3 separate regions of the Homo sapiens genome follow, and regions 2 and 3 are each linked to region 1. The links are contacts of gene promoters, found by promoter capture Hi-C in blood cells and fetal thymus (Javierre and others, 2016). All regions are on one chromosome and are shown on one strand. The core of a region is centred on a gene start or on the middle of the fragment in contact, and the rest is flanking DNA. Distances in the headings are between cores, read along the strand shown. Region 1 holds the start of PLCB4 (phospholipase C beta 4). Region 2 overlaps PLCB4 (phospholipase C beta 4). Region 3 overlaps PLCB4 (phospholipase C beta 4).

Evidence for each region. Contacts are between HindIII fragments. The CHiCAGO score rates a contact against its expected background, and 5 or more counts as called.
Region 2: a fragment that was not itself captured here is called in contact with the fragment with the promoter of PLCB4 in region 1 in 1 of 17 cell types (megakaryocytes); the score reaches 5.7 in megakaryocytes.
Region 3: a contact is called between a fragment that was not itself captured here and the fragment with the promoter of PLCB4 in region 1, in 1 of 17 cell types (megakaryocytes). The highest score is 10.0, in megakaryocytes.

Annotation. Positions count from the first base shown.
Region 1 is chr20:9,067,837-9,072,691 of GRCh38, reverse strand. It overlaps PLCB4 (phospholipase C beta 4), which reads right to left and starts at 3,605. Exons shown (of 40, transcript NM_001377142.1): 1 at 3,486-3,605. The HindIII fragment of the contact is 10,687 bases long and covers 1,702-4,855 here.
Region 2 is chr20:9,143,100-9,148,015 of GRCh38, reverse strand. The region is part of intron 2 of PLCB4 (phospholipase C beta 4); the gene reads right to left. Among named protein-coding and RNA genes, the nearest start is that of PLCB4, 76 kb to the right of the region's middle. The HindIII fragment of the contact is 1,107 bases long and covers 1,042-2,148 here.
Region 3 is chr20:9,168,134-9,173,146 of GRCh38, reverse strand. All of the region lies in intron 2 of PLCB4 (phospholipase C beta 4), which reads right to left. Among named protein-coding and RNA genes, the nearest start is that of PLCB4, 100 kb to the right of the region's middle. The HindIII fragment of the contact is 1,164 bases long and covers 745-1,908 here.

The DNA.
Region 1 (4,855 bases), core at 2,356-4,855:
CCCAGACTCTTTCTACCCTTCCACCCAGAAAATGGGGTTTGGGAGTGGTTGCTGCAAAGGAGTGAAGTGGGCCTTGCAAATAAAAGTTATTCCAGGGTGATATTTTCAAAGCAAGCTTAATTCCAACCAAGACAATGTAAACATCACACTCATCCACTCAGTAATGCATAATCACCCAGGTCTGCCTCCACTGGCAAGGAAGTAAACTCATTTTTATACTTGGTTAGCTAAAGAATCACAGCCTAGGAACATGTAAAACCTTTATATCATTCTAAGGCATAACTAGATAAATAATATTACAATTTGAGAAAGTATTTCTACTTTAAAGGGTGAGGCTTTATCAAAAGCAAAACTATTAAACAAACAAATACTAAGGAATAGAAGAAAGAGCTACACAAGTTTATTCATTTTCCCAATATGAGAGGGAAATAGGAAAATGTGGAATGGACAGCACTGAGAATTAAGCAGTGTCCTTGCAAACACAGTTCACATCTGAAAACCAACAGCAAAACCACAGAAAGTCACTGCTGCCTCCCACCAGCGATGAAAAGCTGTATTTATTTCCCAACAGGCAGATAAGTCTCCTTGACAGACACTAATATGGCCTACACATTCATATATTATGAGGTGAAAAGCAACTATTTTAAAAACTTCAATCTGGACATAAAATACCAACTGTGATCATTAAAGCATCTCCATTAGTCCTTGACCTAATTTTGCATATCAAATACAGAAGTTCTTGGTTTTACAGGGACTCAACTGTGGTAGATAGACAGTTTATTAAAAGACCTGGGTCGGCGGTGCTAATCAACATGCTGTTTCACCCTTACTTTATAAGTGATCACAAACAAAAATTTAGTCACAGCCTGCTAAATAATTTTAAGTTTCAAAGAAAATTTATACTTCCTCAAAAATAGTTTACTATTAAGTGTGGAGAGCATGAGAAATCCAAAATCTTTCTTACATTACCTAAGTGCTCTAATCCGAAAAGATAAAATTTACTCTCAAGATTTCAAAATAAAAAATCAAACTCAGCTAATTACTAATTTTTTTTAATAATCTGCAAAATTTTTTCATTAATTCTGTTATTTGAGTTTTCCAGCTACATCTGAAAAACTGGGGATGAAAATTCAGACACTAAACTCAGAAGCTAATTTCACTTATATTGTTACATCCTTTCACAAATTAGCATGCTAATGTGATCACAAGGAAAACAGCACAGCAGCCCTGAAGCTCACTTTTACCTCAATTTTACTTAGAGGGTGAGGTAAAGATGAATACCAGGCAAACATTTCAATTCTTAATAAATCAAACCCCAAAATGAAGTTAGTGGTATCTTAGGAAAATACCATGTTTACTGAAATTGCCAAATATAACTGTCCCATGTTGCCAAAGTCAGCAGTATACATTAATCTAAAGACAGTTGTGTGTAATCTTGGGAAAGGCAAACTAGCTGTGCTACGGGCACTGAATGGACTCTGCTGTGGTTGAAATATTTCAGAGGTGATACAAATTTTTAAAATCTTTTCCTGCAAAAGGTTTTTGGTAACCTGTAACACTTTTTCAACTACCATATTTCTTTATCTCATAAGGCAAAAACACACCGCCTCACGATTCCAGGACATGTAAGCAGTTTAACATCACTCACATTTTCAGGCATATAAATATAAAACTTCCAATAGAGTATTTTAGAACAAAGCTTTCTGCGTGGGTATGCATTTGCAAAATAAAGGTAGAGTTATTCCGACAGATTTAAATGTGCACCCAGTGATCAAATGGAGTTAGAAATTCTGTTTTGACAGTTACTTGTAGAACAGCATTTTCAACAGCGATTAATTCAGAGCTGGGTAGTAATACCATCAAAACTAAGTTCCAACTGTTGAGTAATAATATAGTTGGAAGGAAGTGTAGTCCATAAGCTAATACATGGTACCTTTAGATATGTTATAATACGTCACATTCAAAAGGTTACTCGTCTGGCAGCAAGTCTTACGTTCATAAAAGTGCCAATAAAAATGTTTTGCCATTTCAAAAAGTGATTTTTTATGAAAACAGGTGCTCTCCAAAGATGGCAATCATTTATTAAACTACTACAGTTCAAAAGGAAGATGATATAATAGATCAATACACCAGCTAAGGATCATGCAAGACTGTCCTATGAAAAACAGCATTCTGGATTACATAACACAGATAGTGAGGGATTACACCACATGCCCCTGCTGAGCTAGACTTTTGATCTTCTGTATGATTCTATAACTGAGGCCACTCAAATTTGAAGAGTATAAAATATGAGGGTCTCAGTTCAACCACACATTTCTGAAAACAGCCGTCTTGAAAACAATAAAAGAATAAAGTTAAAATTTTACCTTCCCCCGCAACACACACACAATTTTTCTATTCTGAAAAACACAGTTGTTCAGATACTTTCTTAACCTCCTTGGAGCCTCCCCAGGTAAAGTCACCAGTTGCTTTTCCTGGTCATGTTTACATTATAAATCTGATTTCTCTTTAAGGGGAAATTCAATATCATTTTAAAATGATACATAGCTGCCTATGTTTGAATAACGTTATTTCCAGACAAAAAGAATTATTAAACAGCTATCTCCACATACCTATAACTTAAATATATAGACCACTAAGTATTACGTATATGGAAAAAAAAACACCTTTCCTGAATATTCTGGCCAAAATTAAATTTCAAATACATGTTTTAGAACAATAGCTAGAATCACTACAGAAGTTAAGAGGAAAAAAAGTTGGAAGAGTAGGGTCATCTTTCAGATATATCCATATTTATGGAAACTATAGTGGGCAGTTGTATTTCTCTCTAGGAAAATGCTAGTTTTATGATTCTAGATAAAGTTGCACTTAAACACACTTGGAAATTAGAGAATTCCATATTTCCATACTTCGATTCAGTACCATATACGAAGTCTACACTCAGAAGTATTGTACTATACAGAGTCTAATTGGTTAAAGCAAAAGCAACTTTAAAATTCTGAAAATAAGGATTTCCTTCACTAACAGGCTTTTAGGAGGCCCGAACCCTGCCCCCAATGAGTGCTAAGCCTGTCAGTGTTGTTTTAAGTGGAAACGGTCAATCATTTCTATGATTTCCCCAGAAGAGGCAAGAAGATCCACACGCATACACATTTACATGCGTTGCACGGTGCCAACTATTTCCAACCAAAATAATCATATACACGTCGAGCCGAGCTATTTCTAGCCCAGAAGAGGGTGAACGTCTGGAGAGAGTCTGAGGAAACCCAGCAGGCGATGACTGCAGGGGAAGGGGGATGGCGTCTGGGTCCCCTGCCTCCCGCGCGCACAGGGCGCCTGGCACCCGGCACCTGCACGGGGTCCCCGCTGGGCATCCGGGTGCGCGCGCGCGCGCGTCCGGGACGCACCCGCGGAAAGCAAACAAGCCCTGAGGGCCAAGGCGGGCGGGAGCATCCTCGGGCGGGACCCGAAATGCCTTTTCCTACCTGTCACTTTGCCTGGAGCTGCTGCCGGGGATGCGGCGACGGCCGCTGCCTGGAGACCCAGTGTGTACGCGCGTGTGTGTGCGCGCCCGTGTGTGCGTGTGCGTGTGTGTGTCTGTGTGTGAGAGATCTTGTTGGCGGTGCAGCTCACTTACTGCTCCCGGCGCGGCGCCACCACCCCCTCCTCGCCATAAAGAGCCGCCGCCAAGCCCCCTCCCGGCGCACCCCAGTCCCGCCCTCCCGCCTGCCTCCGCACCCCCTCCCTGGCCTCCCCGCCTCCCCGTCTCCGCGCCGCGCGGTCCTTACCTCAGTTGAGGGCGGGGGTCTCCGCCGTGGCTCCCCAGCGAGCCCACGGGGCAGCGCCGACCCGCCCGCCCACCGCCGGGCCCTGCGCGTCCCCCGCTCCGGGCCCCGCCGCCCCTCAGCGGCCAGCCGCTTCCTCCTCCCCTGCCCCCGAGCCTCCCTCCTCGTTCTCGCCTCCCGGCTCCAGAGCCCGAGCTGTCGCCTCGCAGCCCCAACCTGCCCAGGCTACGGAGCATGCCCAGTGCGGCGCGCCGGGCTGGGCTGGGGGTGGGCAGGGGCCGGGCCGGCCGCCCAGTTGCCGCGAGCCCGCAGGGCGAGGAGTGGGCGCCGACTGGGTCGGGGGCGCAGCCTCGCGAGCCGGGGGCCGAGCAGCCGAGGCAGGTGGTGGGCAGCGCCAAGAGGAGGTGGGTGGGGCATCCGGGGAAGCCGGCCCGCGGCGCGCTCCTCTGGGGTCTCCCTGGCGGCTCCCCGCGGCATGTGCCCCATGCCCAAGGGTCGGGGGCGCACGGGATGGCGCTGGGCGCAGAACCCAGGGAGCGGGGGCAGAAAAGCGGCACCCTCCTCGGATGGGAGACCCGCAGCCCGCCGTGGGCCGTGTGGAGGGGCTCAGGACTGGCCAGAACGGGGCCCCCAAAGCCGTTGGCTGGGTGGGGGACGTGCTTATTTGTTTATATTCGGTTTCATAAACCCATACAGCGCCTACAATGCGTCCTGCAGTGTTCTAAACGCTTTTTATTCATTTAATCCCTAAAACAATCTTCCAAAGAGTACTACTGCCTCTTTTTATTTCGCGGGTCTTACACAGAGCCACAGAGATTAAGTGGTTCCAAAAAGTCTTCCCACAAGTGCAACCTCAGACATGCAAATCCCCCAGACTTTGGTCCCTGGGATGCTGGGGTGCTGCTCCAGCCAGTTCCTGGCTTTTCCCGGCCCTACAACGGCCCCCAGGTGCCTCCGAGTCACACTCACACCCAGGCCCTAATGGTGTTCGGTCTGGCATCACCCTTGTGTGGACCCTCACAACGTGCTGCTCCCGAACTCCGGAGGGCTCCCTCCTCCCCACTCCGCCT
Region 2 (4,916 bases), core at 346-2,845, 77 kb before region 1:
TTTGTGAGGCTGCTTATCAGTATCAAAAGTACAGTCCTGTGGCCATGGCATGGAGAAAAGTCTGACCTCATTCCTTGCTCAATTGACTGTAATCTCATCCTGCAATTTCTAAGTTGGGATCTAGGATAGTCTGACTGCAAAAAGAGCACAATTCTCCCTCCCTGTAACCACAGTCTCGGCTACGTAACTTTGTGGTGCCATTCTCACTCTAGAATTGGCTGTGTGACTTCCTTTGGCCAATGGAAATATTAGCACACATGATGCAAAGAAAGGCTTGAAAAGTGCTTGCACAACTGAGTTTGTTCTCATTCTTGCTCCTCTGCCATAGCCAGGAGTATATGCTAGGTCTAGTATCTTAGGATGAGACACATATTTAGCAGGGATGAGTCACCCTGATCTAGCATAGATGTTAGCTATGCCACCCTAGGTCAGCTAACAGCTAGCTGAGCCCCTAGACATATGAACTAACCCAGCGCTGCCTGCCCAACCCATAGCTGAGCACAGACACATGAATGAGATCAGCTGAAATCAGTCAAGCATTGAGCAGCTGAACCCCCCGAAACTTACAGGCTAAATACATATATGTTATTCTATTCCACTGCAGTTTTGTGGTTGCTTATTATGCAGCATTATTGTGGCAAAAGGAAACGGATACATATTCCTTGGAATACTAGTCCTTAGCCAGACTGTAATGACTACTTTTGGAACAAAGGTTCCTTAGTTGTGAAACAAGTTGATGACATCCTATGCACCTTAACATACATTAATGTCTTTAAGGATCTAGAAGCCCCACAATAAAGAAGTCTATTTAACTTTGTCTAACCCATATTTCCCACAACCTATTTTACCATAGACCTCCAAGTATGATTCCCTAATCGGATTCTCCCCTAGCCTTAGACCCCAATTCTGGGTTGAACCTCTATCCAATCTTTTTGCCAATCAGGCCACGTCTTTTATTTTCTCTCACAAGATGATTAGTGGACTCTTCAAAAGCAAATTAACAAAACACCTTAAGAGGAGGACTTTGATATCACAAAAGCTTACATTGTTTATAAGCAAAGTTTAATAAGAAATAAAAGATAAATGTTCCAAAAATATCTGAAATCCACATATGGTCTAATTTCAGCTCTCTTCTATTTACACTTAAACAAAAGCATAATGCTGACCTCGCCAATTCCTTCCTCAGCATTCTTCAGAGGCTCCCCATTGCCATCCTCTTATTATAATTGCTTTTAAAAACTAACTGAGAAGCCATCAGGCTGAGATGGCTCCGGCACCTTGGGTTCCTAAGTAAGTAAACCAAAACCTAATCAATGTGAGTCAAAATACCATGTAAAGAGTCAGAAACTACCAATTAACCTCTAACTAGGGACTTTCCACTTTAACCAAATACTTTTGTCTTGCTTCCTAGAACACCTTATAAAAATGTTCCCCTTGTGCCCTTTCAGCGGAGCCCTGAACCACTTACTACCTGATGCTGCCCAATTCATGAATTACTATCTACACGAATAAATTCTTTAAAATGTTAATGTGACTATTTTACCTTTTAACACAGTTTACAAGCCTTCACTGACCTGGTCCCTGATTCCTTATCCATTTTATCTCCTTTCTCCCTCACCCCTAGTCTTGTGTGTACATGCTATCCATCCTGATCTACTTTTAATACCATCAAATGGGCCATGAGCTACTGCTCTGAAACTCCAGAGTTTGGTCATATTTGAGGTGAACCTGAATCATGCAGCTTTGAAATAAGGTGATACAAAAGCACTAATATTGTCTCACATTAATTTGGATCTATGTAGGCACCCCCACCGAAACAATTCTTCAAGAATTGTAGTTTTGATGCTGGCTGGGGCAGAGGAAACTCTAAACTCTGTTTACAGAGTGGCCACAGGGCCATGTTAGCTGGTAAATGAAAATATCCACCATCTTTTGACAGAATTATTTTGAATCATGGGAGTTCCAAATTTGCAAGAACTTTAGAAATACAACCCTCACATAAAATATGACCTCTAGAACATGGAGTTTCTTCTGCTGGAAATTCTTCCTCATTGCTTAACCACACTCTAGCCCAAACATGCAGTTCTTCCAGCTAACTTCAATTTGCCCTTTATGTATCAGTTGAGACAGTACTGCTTCCTGGAAGCTTTCCCTAAAACCCCCAAAAACAGGTCACAAGACCTCTCCCCAAGACAGAATTTACCTGATATTAACATTTTCCCACTGTAAATGCCTGGCATTTATTCTAGACTCTTTGATAGGAGAGATCCTTGCTATTCCAATTTAGGTGGCTCACAGATGATCAATGAATATTGCATGGTTGGGTGCGTGAATGGAAAGATAAATGGATAGATGGAAGATGAAATGAACGAATGGGAAGCCACACTAAATATATGACTGATTTTTGCTGAACATTCTCTCCCTATCCTCTCCCCTGCCCAACCTCAAGAAAAGATAATTACAAACACTAGGCAACAGCAGGGGAAAGAAGACCAAAAAAAAAAAAGAACTTTGATAATTGTATCAGCAGGATAAGAGTGATCATTATGAATTTTGAATTAATGTAGACACATTTTTTTGATGTGAGAGCACTTGTCAAAAATATAAAACACACCCAGAATAAAAGTAGGATGCAGTAGTGGCTTTTCCTAATAAAAATAAAATTTGCTGAAGATGCATCTTTTATTTTTTAGAGAAAAACATTTTAACTCATTTGTTGAGAGTGAAGGATTCACTCCAAGAATTGTGCTATGTAATGAATGTGGCCTCTTTGACACAGGAAACAAAGGTGCAGTGAAGGACTTTCTTAAGAGCTCAGTGGTTCAGATTTCCTGCTTCTCATCACAAAAACATACTGGAGAAATATTTTTGTTTTCACTCACTTTCACCTTGGATACATTTCACTATCTCAGTTACCCCAGTTGTCCTCTTTAATGAGGACAGAAATGAGTGCAAACACAGCTAAGATGGTTTAAAACCAAAAAAGCCTTCATCTCTGATGTTTCTTCTCACATGGCTTTGGATCCCAGACTGAAAACACAATATACCTCCGGCACTTTTAGGCAGAGCTAGGAAAATAGCTCTGCCACTGATTTTAAACATCCTCCTAACTGACACCATGGAGAAGTCTTAGGCAATGTTACATGAATGATCTTTTGGCTGCGTATGTGTATGGCCTTGTTCTCTGGGACTTAATTTTATTTGAACTTCCTTCTCCTTCTCCTCCTACCCCTCCTCCCCCTCATTCCCCTCCTTCCCCTCCTTCCCCTCCTTCCCCTCCTTCCCCTCCTTCCCCTTCTTCCCCTTCTTCCCCTCCTTCCCCTCCTCCCCCTCCTTCCCCCTCCTCCTCCTCCTTCTTTCTTCTTCTTCTTTTCTTTTTTTCTTTTGTAGAGATTAGGTCTCATTTTGTTGCTCAAGCTGGTCTTGAACTCCTGGGCTTAAGCAATCCTCCAGCCTTGGACTCCTGAGCCACCACACCAGCCTTTAACTTTCTTTAAACCCCTTAGATACTATATCTGCAAAGGGCTGTATAGTATTTTCACTAGCTAGAAAAATCCAAAACAATTTTCTATGGATTGTTTTAACCTTAAAGTTAAGCAAAGGTGTAATCTGCTGCTTATGTTTTTCAGGTTCCTTTGTGTCATATTTCCCTATTGTTTGAACTCTTTTAAAAAGTCCCACATAAAAGTACAAGCAAGAACCTAGCCATTAGTTGTATCTATCAACAAACACATCAATGGTCATACCAGGAAACACAGTAGTTGGTTCTCCCAGACATCAACCTTAAAGATGTGGTACAGCCCAGCTTCTCCAAGCAGTTCTGTCCTTCAGAAACTTACTAAACTTTCAAGAATTTATTTCTGCCTCCTACAGCTTGTTTTTTCTGCATGCGTTATTTCAAAACACATCTGCATCCCCTGGGAAAAGATAAAAGTGATACCAAATAAAACTAAAAGCAAACTTCAGAAAGACTTCTCAAGGAAATGCTCCCAAATAAAGAGTAATTTCTTCACTTTGTTCTTTTCTTTCTCCCTTTAACTCTCCAACAAAGTTAAGTCCCTCAAGACTGTTTATTCTTCTCATTTATAAAAGCATCCACCAGGTAACCAAATTAAGATCCCTTTTGCAGAAGGAAGCCCAGCAAGCTAGTCCCCTGATACTATGAAGCCATAGCCACCAGGATTCCCACAAAGCACAAGTGTATCCACCCTGCATTTCTTGCCAATGCTGTTCCTTAATTGGCCATGAATAGTTACAGTCAGCCCCAGCAATTTCTGTACCCTGTATAGTATAATCTCCTAAAACATCAGCTGAGAGTTTAAAAGCCAAATTTTTAAATAGCATCCAATTAATAATCATAGTAATAATGAAAGAATTGCCAAACTGCAATGTGAATTCTGAAGTCGAAAGTGGAGGCTAAGCTAAATGCACCAAAACTATCCTTCCACCATCCCTCCCCTCCACCGTTTTTTAAATGTTACATTTAGTACTGAAACTTTCTGGAACTAGCTAATGTGAAATGTTAGGATTTTATATTTCAGGTTCTATTTGCTTATTCAACATTTACTGAGCACTGACTATGCCTGAATATAAAGATAGAAATTATTGACAGCTGATCTCAAGGAAATCAAAATTCCACTCAAAAAGAAGTTTCTAACAGCATTTGTTTCATTCACTCAACAAATGTTTACTACTAAGTACCTGCACTGTTCTAGGCATTGAAGATGTCCATGCATGATACAGACAGAAATCTCTGCTGTCATGGAACTTCAATTTTAAAGAGGGAGATGGACAACAAACGAGTCAGCCAATGGTCTAGATATTAGAAGACACTAAAGGTTATGGAGGAAAAAGACTAAAGTAAGGAAAGGGACAGGTACAAGTCACAGGGATGGCAACACTAAAAGAAAGGCCCC
Region 3 (5,013 bases), core at 77-2,576, 100 kb before region 1:
CCACAGACCACACCAAAGCTTTGCAAGGCCAACCAAGAGTTCAGCAGTTGACAGAGCTCCTATATTTACAGCCAGGAGGCACTGCAAGCAAAGCATAGTTCATCATCTGTTCCCAAGTCTTTGGAAACTGAACTTCAGAGTGAGATTTTTCTTATATTCTAGATCATGGATGGGGTCAACCTGCACTATGGAGTCATTCTACAAAATGAAATTATTTCAGAAAAACAATTTGCTCTTTGCAGATAACAGGAATTATTAAAGTGCCAAACATTATTACTGAAACATGGCCAGACATATGGAAGTAACTTTTAAAAACAAAGACAAAAACAAAACAGAAAACCCCAGATTATTTTGCCTTAATATAATCCTCCTGTTAATTCTGTTCTTAGGGCGAGTTGACAGGGGAAGGGGAAAATGAGGTTTATCATGTTTGCAGAGACAGTGGCCTCTCTTAACATTCAGGCACTCGGCCAACAATATTTATTAAATGACAGTTTTCCAAAACACTAAACAAGAAAAGGAAATGCGAATGGAAATGCAAAATAAGTGTTAAGATGGTGTTTCTGCAAAGAGGACTTACATTGGAAGACATGGGAAGACTAATACATAAAATATAATTAGAGAGTAATTAACAGTCTTTATCTACACAGGAGAGTAACACCAAAAGGTTTATAAGCCAATGCAATATGCACTCAGGAAAGGGAGAGATGGACAGGGATTTGACTTATAGCAGTGAGGAAAGCTTCAGCAAGGTGAGGTTTTATGCTTAACTTTCAAGGATAGGTAGGATGTATGTAGAAAATGAGTAAGATATTCCACTCAACAGGGAATTGGCTTGGTGACTTCTCTCTTATTATGGAATCTTAAGTTTTTAGTTGAAGCTGAAAACATACTAAAACTGGCATTAAATGGTGGTCCTTTGTTATATGATGAATTCTTATATTCTAGATCATGGATGGGGTCAACCTGCTCTATGGAGTCATTCTACAAAATGAAATTATTTCAGAAAAACAATTTGCTCTTTGCAGATGAAAGGAATTATTAAAGTGCCAAACATTATTACTGAAACATGGCCAGACACATGGAAGTAACTTTTAAAAACAAAGACAAAAACAAAACAGAAAACCCCAAATTATTTTGCCTTAATATAATCCTCCTGTTAATTCTGTTCTTGACAAGTTGACAGGGGAAGGGGAAAATGAGGTTTATCATGTTTGCAGAGACAGTGGCCTCTGCAAGCACTCTGCCAAATATGGAAGATCGATTGATATTTCTTTCCATTCCATTGAGGCTTAAAATTATGAGGAGGGGGGAAATAGTCATTATTTCCCACAATTCTCCACTTACATAATACACAACTGCACAAATAAATGCAGATAATATGCTTCTGCCGCCTCCAATTACATCATCAGATGAAATATTCAAAGTAGAAGTCTCAGATACTGTTGCAACCCAGTAGAATGATGCTTAAATTTATAACCTGAATTTATTTTTCTTAAAACATGGCTCTCTGAGTTATTTTTTTGCCAAAACTGACTGTAGCAAGTGTTTGCAATACTTGTTCTGTCCTTTCCTCTCAGAGAAAAGCAACTATAAATTAAGTAACTTGGAAAACAAGATTAGAATAAATATGCACATACAGATTCTTGTTGTTCTGGTCTATAGTTTGACAACTATACATTAGCCCTAACAAAATATGGTCTCTGGTTTTAATTTTTGAATAGACAGCTGCTGAATATTTGTGCAGTTTGGTTCTAAGGATTGCATACTGTACTTTTTGAAACTACTGGAATATTCTCTTGCATTCTTTTGTGAGCAAGGAAACGTAAACTGTCTACTAAATGATGTACCTTTGAAAATCACTACATATTTCTTTGTAGCATTCTAAAGGGGACTGTAAAAGAAGCTTCTGAGCGCCTACCATATGATAGGTAACTCCAAGTTATACAATGTGGATTTCTTACAGAAAATACCTGAATAAACCCATCGTTTATAAATCATATTCACACACACACAAAAAAACTATGTCAAGGTGTGAATAAGAGCTTAAGGAGCTGTGTGAGTTTTCAGAGATGAGTCTCATATTCCACTGAAGTAGTGATTTGTGAAAAGGAGCAAACCAAAAATGGGAGTTTCATGGTACCGTCAAAGAACTCAATGTGAGCACTTTACAGCCCCTAAACAACTTTATGGTGCTGGTATAACTCATTCATTTTGACCATATCCCTACCGCTATGTTAGATATTCAAAAACTGCTTCTTCATGACCAAAGAGATTGTGGTACATTTTAACTTTCTGCCTCCAGGCCATTTTGAGAGTCTGGCAATTCAGACAATTAGCTTTCTGGATAGCTGAGGTTTTACCGACTCTGTGAACCCACATCAGGGCAGATCCAAATCAACCCCAGACCTTGTTAGGTACCTGAAGGTAAAGCTGACTGAAACTACTGCCCACAAACATGGAATGTCATGAATTATCATTATTACAAGGATAGAGCTTTCTGTTTCTGAAGAAGCAGTGTGAACCAACTTATATTTCAGGCTAAATGATGAGGTTACTGTATCCTCAAACACAATCTTCGTAGGAAACAGCTGCCTGAAAGAGGAGTTTTTTTTCTTTATATCCAGAGAAACCAGGTGTGTCAGCCCAAAGAACCTCTCAGAACATGGTTTACCTCCATGTCTTTGCATCTCTATTTATGTTATCTCACCAGCCATCTCATAAAACATGATAAGAATCAATAAAGTCATTGGAAAACATCTGTACCAAGTAAAAAACAGATAATCTAAGCTACTCTTGTTAAAACTTTAGTTCTGTCAGAAATAAATTAGTCCTAACAAACTAAATATTAATTTGTAAGAAAGTGTTGTACAACATGCATTCCTAAGTATGAAAGTAACTTGCATGAAATAAAACTGATCAAAGCACAATTTTGAAGAAATAAACTAACCACAGATCACTTGCAATCAGTAAATCCTTCTTTGGAGAGACTCAAAAAAGAACGTAAAGGTTGGGGAAGGAATGCAGGAACTTTCTCCGGTGGTGGTAATGTTCTATATCTTGCCAGGACTGATTTATCTGGGTGCGTCCACTTGTTGAAAGTTCAAGCTATGTACAAGTAAGGATGTGTGCATTTCATCGAATAGAAATTTCGTATGAATAACTGATAAGAAATATTGAACTCCAGTTAATAATAAGCATGCTGGAATATACAAACTATGCCTGCAGTTTATTTTTAAATCCATCAAAAATAAGACAGTGAAAGACAGAGGGATAAGTGGATGGACAGATAATAAAGGCAATAAAGTGTTCATGGTAGAATCTAGGAGGTGAATACACAGCTGTTCATTGTAAAATTCTTTCAAATTACTATATGTTTGAAATTTTCACAAACAATGTTGTGGAGGAAAGTACAATGGGAAGGAATCACTGAAGAATTTGGAGTATCACACCAACACCCCACTGCCCACTTCCTTCCCTTCAGGAGTTCAATTCACATGGTATCTAGAACCCTGGCAGAGTATTTATTTATTTATTTATTTATTTATTTATTTATTTATTAGACAGTCTTGCTCCGTCACCCAGGCTGGAGCGCAGTGGCACGGTCTCAGCTTACTGCAACCTCTGCCTCCCGTTTCAAGCGATTCTCCTGCCTCAGCCTCCAGAGTAGTTGGGATTACAGGTGTGCACCACCACGCCGGGCTAATTTTTTTTTTTTTTTTTAAGAGATGGGGTTTCACCATGTTGGCCTGGCTGGTCTCAAACTCCTGACCTCAAGTAATCTTCCTGCTTCGGCCTCCCAGAGTGCTGGAATTACAGACTGGCAAAGTGTTTACATTGAGAACTCAAGACACATATCTCACAAGCTGAGACATGGAAAGTTTTTATGAAAATCAAATGCCCAAAACTGGATTATTACATTGGAAAATTGTGTGTTAAGTGAGAGGAAGGAAGCAGCTCCTCACAAATAAAGTTTCTATATTTAAATTCACAGGGAGCTAAAGTGGAGCACCTGCAAGCCAGATTGGGCAGAGGATGCCACAGAAGACTCAGGTTCAAGATGCAAATCAAACTCAATGCATTTAAAAGGCTCCTGATTGGCAGGACATGAGGGCAGACAGGAGAAGAGGATGAGCCCTTGGTGGTTGTAGCAACCGCAAAGGGAGACTTGAGCTTGAAAGGTGGGTGTTGAGCTTGAACGCTTTCTTAATTGGTGGCTGCTTGGGCTGACAGGCAGGAGTTGGGGCTGCCAAGGATGACGAGTCCTGGAAAAGACTGCTGTGGAAGTTCAGCAGAGGTGACAATCCCACACATTTCTACCAGAGAAAACAAGCCACACATCATCAGTTATATCAGCCACAAAGCGGCCAGTGTCACCAGCTAGTCGATTCCCCTCAATCACATCTCAGTCATGAGCTTCGCAAACTGACTGCCCACTATGGACAGACAATGTCCATTAAGTGAAAAACAATGACCTGAGCAGTTATTTGGTATCTGGTGGTGTAGCTCCTCGCTAGTCAAAGTGTGGTCCCTGAAATGGTGGCATTAGCAGCACCTGGGAGCCTGTTAGCAATGCAGAATCTCAGGCCTCATCACCCCACACCTGCTGTGGTACAATATGCAGTTAACAAAATCACAAATGATTCACACGCACATTAAAGTGTGGAAAACAGTGGAGTGATCCGATAACAAGCCCACAGACCGAGTCTCAATTACTTGGGTCTTCTCAACAGCAGCTTCATCAACAGCGTCACCTTCAGAGAAGACAGGTGCAGGTAAACAGGTGCAGGTAAACAGGTAAGCAACATTAAGCCTTGCACACCTTGTCTCCTGGAAGCACCTTCTCCTGCTCTATAATGCTTCAGTTCTAGCCTCCATCTGTATAAGATAACTTACCCCAAAGCCCCGGGAGAGTCTATAAAGATAAAACACAGTTGAACTTGTGTTGAAAATTTGGAAAGTTTCATATGCTTTAATGTGTCTGGAAATATTCTCTGTATCTTTGGAGAGTGC